2 separate regions of the Homo sapiens genome follow, and region 2 is linked to region 1. The links are contacts of gene promoters, found by promoter capture Hi-C in blood cells and fetal thymus (Javierre and others, 2016). All regions are on one chromosome and are shown on one strand. Each heading gives the region's core, a stretch centred on a gene start or on the middle of the fragment in contact. The rest is flanking DNA. Distances are from core to core; before and after follow the strand shown. Region 1 holds the start of CAMTA1-AS2 (CAMTA1 antisense RNA 2). Region 2 holds the start of CAMTA1-AS1 (CAMTA1 antisense RNA 1).

Region 1 (4,054 bases), core at 1,312-3,811:
TGTGTATGCTGTTGACCCCTCTCATTGAACAGGCTTGGACCCTACCCTGCTTCCTCCCATCCACCAAACACCTCTTCACCACCATTTCCACCACCCAGTGACTGGCTTCTCTCTCCCACCGACATGGCACCACCACACAGCCACCCCAACCAGGAGACCTCACAATCCTAGTTTCTGCTCGCCCTTCACTTCCCAAATCCAATCCCTTATTAAGAAATTCCCATTCTCTTCTCCCATCTGTTTTCCATTTCTGTCCAGGCCAGGCCGTGGGGTCTCTGAGCTTCACGGCTGCAGCTGCCCCTGCCAGCAAGCAGGGTCCCAGCTGCCCTAGACCCCAGCCACTGTCCTGCCAGGGTCCCAGCCTGAGGCTCACCCAGCCCAGGTGCCTCCTGGGGCCTCTCGTGCTTCTCTGCTTTTCTTAAAGCTGGAGGCAGGTTAGCGTCAACTAACACACACAGAGAAAAAGCTGCAAAACAGGTTTTAAAATGTGCACGGTGTAAAAATGATAGTGGGAGTTTGGACACAGATGGGTAGGAGGTTATGACAGGGAAAGAATTTTGCTTAATCTTGGAATGAAAAATACTCTGATCCTGGCAGAGTCCAGTCAGAAGGAATTTCCAGCAAGATCTGTCTTCTTGCCACATTGTCTGCAACACAATTGATCTTTGCTTTGATTGCTTTCCCCTCCCTCCCCCTCACTTGGCTTTTCGCAGATAATGTACAGAAAGCCCCTTTTTGTTGTTGGAGCGGTTTACTGGGGGAGGCCTTCAGAATCAACATCCAGCTCTCCCAGTGTGACCTCCCCCTTCCCCTGCCAAGTCAGAGATGGGCTTTCTTTGTCTGTGACTTGAGATCTTGGAGGGCCTTGGGTTCCAATCTGAGCCCTGTCACTAGCCTTGGGTGGATGATCACTCTAAGGACCAATTTCCTTTTTCATCTGGAAAATGGGGATAGTAGTCCCTTTCTCCGGGGGTCGTTGTGAGAATTAAGTGAAATGACACAGGGCTTTAATGGATGGTGCTGCACCTGTTGTCATGGCCACTGTGGATGTGAGCGGCAGAGCTGCAAACACGCCTTGCTCCTCTGAGGTCAGCCCATGCCGGCTGCCCTTTGGGTGCCAGCCAGGCCGTTGTGCTGCAGGGAAGGGAGGAGAGGAGCCTCTCTTCTGGGTGAGCCAGACAAAAAGGAACCTCTCGTGGCGTTTGTCCCAGCATCCTCTGACCGTGAGCCTTCCGATGTGCCTGCCTGGTATGAACAGAAACGTGGATCCAACCCACACTCCTTCCTGATTTCAAACGTCCCTGTGAATCGGATGGGACGTAGTTAATAGCCCCTGTCTTCCTGGAAGGAAATGTTCAGGGAGGACTGGTGTTGGGAAGCTAGAGGGGAGGCGGCCCGGCCTTGGAGCCCAGCCCTGTTGGTGTTGCTCTCTTTGGCCCTGGTGAACGTCCTGGCCTTGGTCTCCTGAGTCCAGGGGGCCTGGCCAGCAGCCTGCCTTCCTGAGGCCCAAGCCCCTGGTTCTGACTGCTGATGCGCCTCCTGGGAGCGTTCCTGCCCATCTCCACTTGGAGTTACCAGGAACTGAGTTGTTGGTTCTGCTGGCAGCTCCCATCCTGTCCCATGGGGGGTTCAGACACGGAGACCAGTGCTGGAAGGCCCTGAGGCCTCTGAGCCCTCCAGCCAGAGCCAGGGTGTGCCCAGTGCATGCACTGCTGTGTCTGCCTGGGCTGGTCTCCCCACCAGACCGAGCTTCCTGCCGGACTGGGGCAGGGCCCTAACGCTCTGTTGTTACACTCTCCATCCCCGTGCCATTCAGAGCCTCCCAGCACTGAGTAGGCACTGCACGGCGAGAGGGAGGGGGAGGAGGAAGGGAGTCTGGCTCTGTGCCTGTCCCCGGCTGCCTGGCTCTGACTGTCAGAGTCACTCTGCAGCAGCACAGAGCGAGTCCGCTGGGTGCTGTGAGACGACCCTGGAGAGATCCTCCCACCCCCAGCTGTCTCTTCTCTAGCCTGTTGCCCCCAGCTCCATCCCTCCTAACCCTACCCCTTGGCCAGCTCTCTGGGCTCTGGGCTCGGCAGGAGCCTCTTTCCCCCATGGGCTCAGTCAGTGCTCCCCCTGCAGCCCTGCTGGGTCTCCCTGGAGCTCACCATCCGGACTCGGGCTGTGTGGGCACTGGAGTTCTTGATGTCACACACGTCAGCGTGTTCCCTTAGCACTGTGTGAACACGACCCTGTCCCCTGGCCGGCCTGGGAGATGGCAAAAAAGAATGGAGTGGCTCCCTGGCAGGAAGTGCAGGAAGGCAGGGGCACAGCCCCATTGCAGCACCCCTGCCAGCACAGGCCAGCTTCTCCACTGATTTGCCCTTGACTGTTCCCTTAGAAACAGACATGAGTGGCCACAGGCCGAACGAGGCTCCGTGGAGAGAAGTGGGGGCAGGTGGTGGGTGGGTAATTTATCTTACTTACTGTAGGGTGTGGGGGTAGAAAGCCAGGGCTGAAAATCTTGCTTCTCTAGGAGGTGACTAAAGGCCTTCACAGTGGTCTGGACAGGAAAGGGTGGAGTCCAAGCACAGGGTCCCCAGAGGAGTGTGGTGAGGCCGAGGGAGGAGGGACCCAGGCAAGGGAATCTTGGAGGAGAAGGCAGGACAGTTAGCCCAGACTAGGGTGGCCGGGGCAGGCTCTGTGAGGCTGCTGTTGGGGGTCCCGTGGCTGCAGAGAGGTTTGCTTTCCAAGTCAGGGCCACTAGTTTCCCTCGGATGCTATTTGTGTCCCCCGCCTTCCATTGTGATGCTGCACAATAACTTTTACAGCCTGGCCTGGTGCCTGGCCTGCAGCCCTGAATCACTGATTCATCTTTACCTGCCGCTTCCCTGCCGGACGGCTCTGGGTGCAGGAGCCAAGAGCCCGGGCGACGGCGCAGGGCTGGTTCCTTCCCACTTCTGCCCAGTCACTTCCCCACCCTCTGAGGACCCTGGAGAAATTCAGCCAGGGCCTGGGCCTCTAGGAGCTGCCAAGCCTCCCTCTCTTAAGCAAAGCGAGCTTAGGGTTCACAGGGCCAGAGCAAGAGGGTGACACAACCCGCCCAGGGTGCCTGCCTTCTCTAAGCATCTGACACAGCTCAGGGACCTGCTGTCCTCAGGCTCATTCCAGGTGGGTGCCTTGGCCCTGGGCCTCAGACCAGCCTCCCCTCAGAGCTCTATCTGGACCCTTGTGATGGATGCCATTACTTGTCTGACATGTCCCCAAAGGAGCCCGCAGATCCCACTGCCAACGCCAGTACCAGTGCACGGCCCAGGATTGGCCCTGCTGCTTACTACTCCTGAGCCCCTGCAAGTGAGTTCTGCTCTCTGGGCCTCAGTTTCCTCCTGTCTACAACAGGGTCGCTAGTAGTGCCTGTGGCAGTAGGGTTGCTGTTCAGACACCCAGGCTGTGAAAAGTTCCTGGAAGGGACCCCACCCTACAGAAAGCACTCAGTACCAAAGAAAGCCTCATGGGTGTAAATGAATCTGCTCCACTCTGCAAAGAAAAAGAGCACCTCTCCCCCACATGCATTCCTACGGGGCTTGCAGCCCTGGTGCCCTCACTGGCTGCCATTGAGAGCCTGTGCTCTGCACCGCCCGCCAGGTGTGCCAGGGTGACGTGACTCCACACCAAGCACTGGGGGCTGGACTTGTTTAGCCATTTCTCTCAAGATGGCCATTTCTACACTTTCATGAGAAGGAGGCCTCGCCTCCGTTGGAGTGGCTGAGTGGTGCATCCAGCTGGTTCCTGGGACTGGGGACAGGTTTTAGTGCTCCGAGAATCTGGGTTGTTGTTTTTTTTTTTATGGAGTTTTGCTCTTGTTGCCCGGGCTGGAGTGCAGTGACGCGATCTCGGCTCACCGCAACCCCCACCTCCCAGGTTCAAGTGATTCTCCTGCCTCAGCCTCCCGAGTAGCCGGGATTACAGGCATGTGCCACCATGCTGGGCTAATTTTGTATTTTTAGTAGAGATGGGGTTTCTCCATGTTGGTCAGGCTGGTCTCCAACTCCTGACCTCAGGTGATCTGCCCACC
Region 2 (3,818 bases), core at 1,027-3,526, 52 kb after region 1:
GAATCGAGCCCCTCCCTGAGACTGTGCAGTGAATGAGCCCCCTGCCCCTGCACCACCCAGGTCAGGCCGAGTGGACACTACCCTGAAGCACGTCTCCCGGTCCAGCCCCCACTCCTGCCTCACTGCGACTCTGCCACCTGATGCCTCCATGGAGGGTCGATTCACCTGCCTGAGTCTGTGTGGGACCCACCACCCATGCAGGACCAGGGCTCCCCACTGAGGACCCTCTGAGCTACTGGTTAACAGGCTCAAGCCTGCGCATGGTACGGCCACCGTCCTACATAGGTCCTGGGATCCAGCCTCCAGAGTGCAGGCCCATAGGCCAGACACCACCTGGGCAGCTTCTCATTCAGGACTGCCCCACTGTGATGATGGGGAGGAACGGAAGTGTGCAGGCCTCTAGGGTGCAGGTCTCTGAGCTCCCCAGGTGCAGATGAAGGGGTGAAGGGAGGGAGAGTGCCGAGCCCAGCCTCCCAGGAGGCAAAGCCTGGGTATCTGAGGCTGTCCAAGGTGCGGAGTGTCGGAGTCACGTGAGCTGCATCTCCAACCTTGGCTTCCTCATTTGCAAAATGAAGAGGCCCCAGTGAGCTCGGAGATCCCTTCACAGAATCATCGCTAGAATTCCGTGAGGCTTTGTTGAGGCCCAGCAGGCCTGTCTCAGTGGCAAGGGAGGCAGGTGGCTCCTGGAACGCAGGCAGCACTGGGCGGGTACCCGCACTGGGCATCCCATGTGCCCCACATCTCTGGCACATTAGCCCATGGCTCAGGTGGCACTGGCCCCGTGGCATAGGCGAGAGGGCAGGCTAGGGACTGCTCCTACCAGTGTGTCTTGGGCTCTGTGCCCACTACCTGGTGGGGAGAGGTGTCCACTTTGTCCACTTCATGGCATGGGAGCCGATGCGGCTTCAATCCTGACTCCGCAGCTGCCTCCTGACCAGTCAGCAATCGGGAGCCCCGACCTCTTCCCTCTCCATCCTCACTGCAGCCTGGGCAGGCCGGAGGCCAATGTCCCCAGGGCAGAGCTGGGACAGTCCCAGTGGGAAGGAGGCCTGGCCGGGCCAGACAGCAGCCTGGGAAGGAGCCGTGTGTTGCCTGGGAGTTCCACGGCACCGGCTGAACCTGCATCTTGAAGGTTTGATTGATTGCGTCGTTCAGAGTGAATATATTTTTTAATAATCGGTTTCCAAAATTAGTCTTTCTCTGTGTAGCAGCTATCACAAACAGCATGAGACGCACTCCTTTTATTTTTTTTTTACCTGCCAGAGGCAGATATTTGTTTTTCCTTCAAGAGAGCAGCAGGTGAAGGTGTGGTCCCCGGATCCCAGCACCTGGAAGCTGCGGTCTGGTCCTGCCTGCTTGGAGCCTGTGGGCCGAGAAAGACAGGGGCAGAGGCAGCCTGACCAAACCTCCTCTTGCTCCCACTCTCCGTGGCTTGCGGGCCAAGCGACATCAGCTCTGCACCCCTCGGTTTCCTTAGCCGATGGCGATGGTTTGATTACTTCATCACACTGTTTTGGGATTAAGACAGGACAAGCTTAGTGCACACATTATAGCTGCTCAGTGCCCATTCAGTAACTGGTAGCTTGGTCCTCCTACCTCGTGCCCTTGCGGTAGCTCTGGGAAGCCAACTCTGTCTCCATTTGACTGGTCCTACAGGTGCGGGTTTTAAACCCTACGTCACCCACATCTCCTTTTGGACATCACAAAACTCCTGAGGTGCCCAGCCCACTTACCCCCAAGTGCTCACCTTCTGTGAGCTCCTGAGCTTCTTCACCAGCTGAGATTTTTCCTTGTGGAGTTTTCTACTTCTGTTGTTTGTAATTCAAACTAATAAGTTCTTCCTGCATTTGAAAAATGAAAACATGGTGTAATATTGAATGTTGCTGTTCAAACTGCTCCCCACACCCAGCATTTTGCAATGTCCCCCAGGGGCACACACCCTTGATGCTTGACTGAAAAACTACCATACCAGTGACTGTCTGTATCTCATTGGCCTGAGAAATTAAAAGCTGCTACTGTGTTACATTAAGTGTCTGCTGTACGCACCGCCCTGGGCTGGGCCAGTCCTGGGGGATAAAGAACAGTATCAGAAAGATACTCAGACAGAGCTGTCTCTGTGGTGGAGGAGATGAGAGCTAAGAGAAGTGAAAATGCAGAGCCGAGGCCAGGCCATCCCGCAGTGTCCACTGGTGCAGGGGTGGGCTGCGGGTCGCGAGCCACGGGAGCTTGCAAAAGGGAAGGGCATGGCTTGAAGTCAGCTTCCCGGAAGAGGAAGAGGCGGTCCTTGGCTGATGGCAGAATTTGCATGGGCTGATAGGAAGGGACGGCTTCAAGGTTGAGTTGGCTAACAACTCGAGCCAAGGCCCAGAGGTGGGGATGAGTTTGCTGCCAAAGGGGACGGCTGGCAGGAAGCTACTCAGTGTGCTTGTTCGTCTCGCTCATTAATTGGGCACAAAGAGCAGCAAATCCCATCCCCATCCCGAGGCCCTGCAGCATGGTAGGATCATGCCCACTTCTCCCTGCTCTTAGACCAACGTGGGTTCTGCCTCCCCTGCCCAAAGCGTAGGCGCAGACTCTGGGTGGAATCAAGGTGCAAAGGAGGCCTCGATTCCGGCGGTTTCAGAGGGCTGCTCCCTGCGTAAGTCATCCACCCATCCTCTTGTTACCCCACCTCTGGCTTCTGGGGGCCCCAGGACTTCCCCAGCGCTGTCCTCAGCCCTGAAACCTCCATGGGGTTTCCATGGAGAAGTGCTGACAATTTTGTTTCTACTCTCCCAGTTCTTCCTGAAATTCATCTGCATCAAAGTGAGATCCCTTATGCTCAGCGCTCAGCAAGGCTGTGGTGATTAAGCACTTAAATTGATTAATCAAATTTCCTGTGATGAGAACTACTGTCATTCATTAATCTGAGCGGGATTATAAATAAGAGATGGCAGATACAGGAGACAACCGTGTTGACAGATGGACACGGTGGCCTGAATCACAAGTAGGTGCCTGCTTCCTGGGGGCTTTCGCTGTGGGCAGCTGGGGACGGAGCTTCCCTAAAGACAAAATTATTCGGAGATTGAAGTATCCCCATTTTAATAACGAAATATGCATAGATGAGCAGGCAGCCGGTACAGGGAGCACGTAGGTTCGCATACCAATGGCCCGGTTGTATTCATGGAGGTGGTAGCAGCAGCTCCAAGAGATAAAGAATCTGCTAGAAAAAGAGGCCAAAGCAAAGTGGCACACGGGTTGAGAATATGGGTTTGAGGGTCAGAGCAGCCCTGGGTGCAAATCCTGCCTCCATGGTTTACTCAACGCGTGACTTGGCTGAGGTTCTCAATCTCCCAGAGCCTCCATTCCCTCACTGGCAAAATGCGGATGCTGATAATCCTGATTCCACTGGGTTGTTGTTAAGAGTAAATGAGACAATATCTATGAGGCACTTTTTATCTAGTTTACAAACATTTATTGAGCACCTACTGTATGTCAGTACTGTGCTGGTATTTAGAGATTGGCAAGGAATAAAGCAAGCATGGTCCCTGCCCCCAGAGCTGGTGTTCTTATGGAGAAGGCAGACACTGAGACTCAAGGGCTATGACACAGTGCTACTGCCCTGGCCTTCCCAGATGCCACATTCTCTGTTGACCTCCTGGACTCAGGATGTCCTTTCCATCCCTGTCTTTGAACACTTCTTCCTGCCTGTGGTCTCTCCTTGCCCCTGCGCAGATCCTCCTCCTGACTTCTTGGCCTCATTCACTCCAACAGAACTGTCCCTCCCAGCTCAAGTATACTGTGTCTCTACCCAAGTCAAAGCCCTGGATGACGGCTGC

The links. Contacts are between HindIII fragments. The CHiCAGO score rates a contact against its expected background, and 5 or more counts as called.
Region 2: the fragment with the promoter of CAMTA1-AS1 here is called in contact with the fragment with the promoter of CAMTA1-AS2 in region 1 in 17 of 17 cell types (neutrophils, activated CD4 T cells, total CD8 T cells and 14 more); the score reaches 15.7 in neutrophils.

What each region holds. Positions count from the first base shown.
Region 1 is chr1:7,387,193-7,391,246 of GRCh38, forward strand. It overlaps CAMTA1-AS2 (CAMTA1 antisense RNA 2), which reads right to left and starts at 2,562. Exons shown (of 3, transcript NR_146199.1): 1 at 2,467-2,562; 2 at 2,148-2,247. The region is part of intron 5 of CAMTA1 (calmodulin binding transcription activator 1); the gene reads left to right. RefSeq lists an enhancer at 937-1,474. The HindIII fragment of the contact is 18,859 bases long and covers 1-4,054 here.
Region 2 is chr1:7,439,341-7,443,158 of GRCh38, forward strand. It overlaps CAMTA1-AS1 (CAMTA1 antisense RNA 1), which reads right to left and starts at 2,277. Exons shown (of 2, transcript NR_187278.1): 1 at 1,748-2,277; 2 at 1,227-1,508. The region is part of intron 5 of CAMTA1 (calmodulin binding transcription activator 1); the gene reads left to right. The HindIII fragment of the contact is 2,325 bases long and covers 1,533-3,818 here.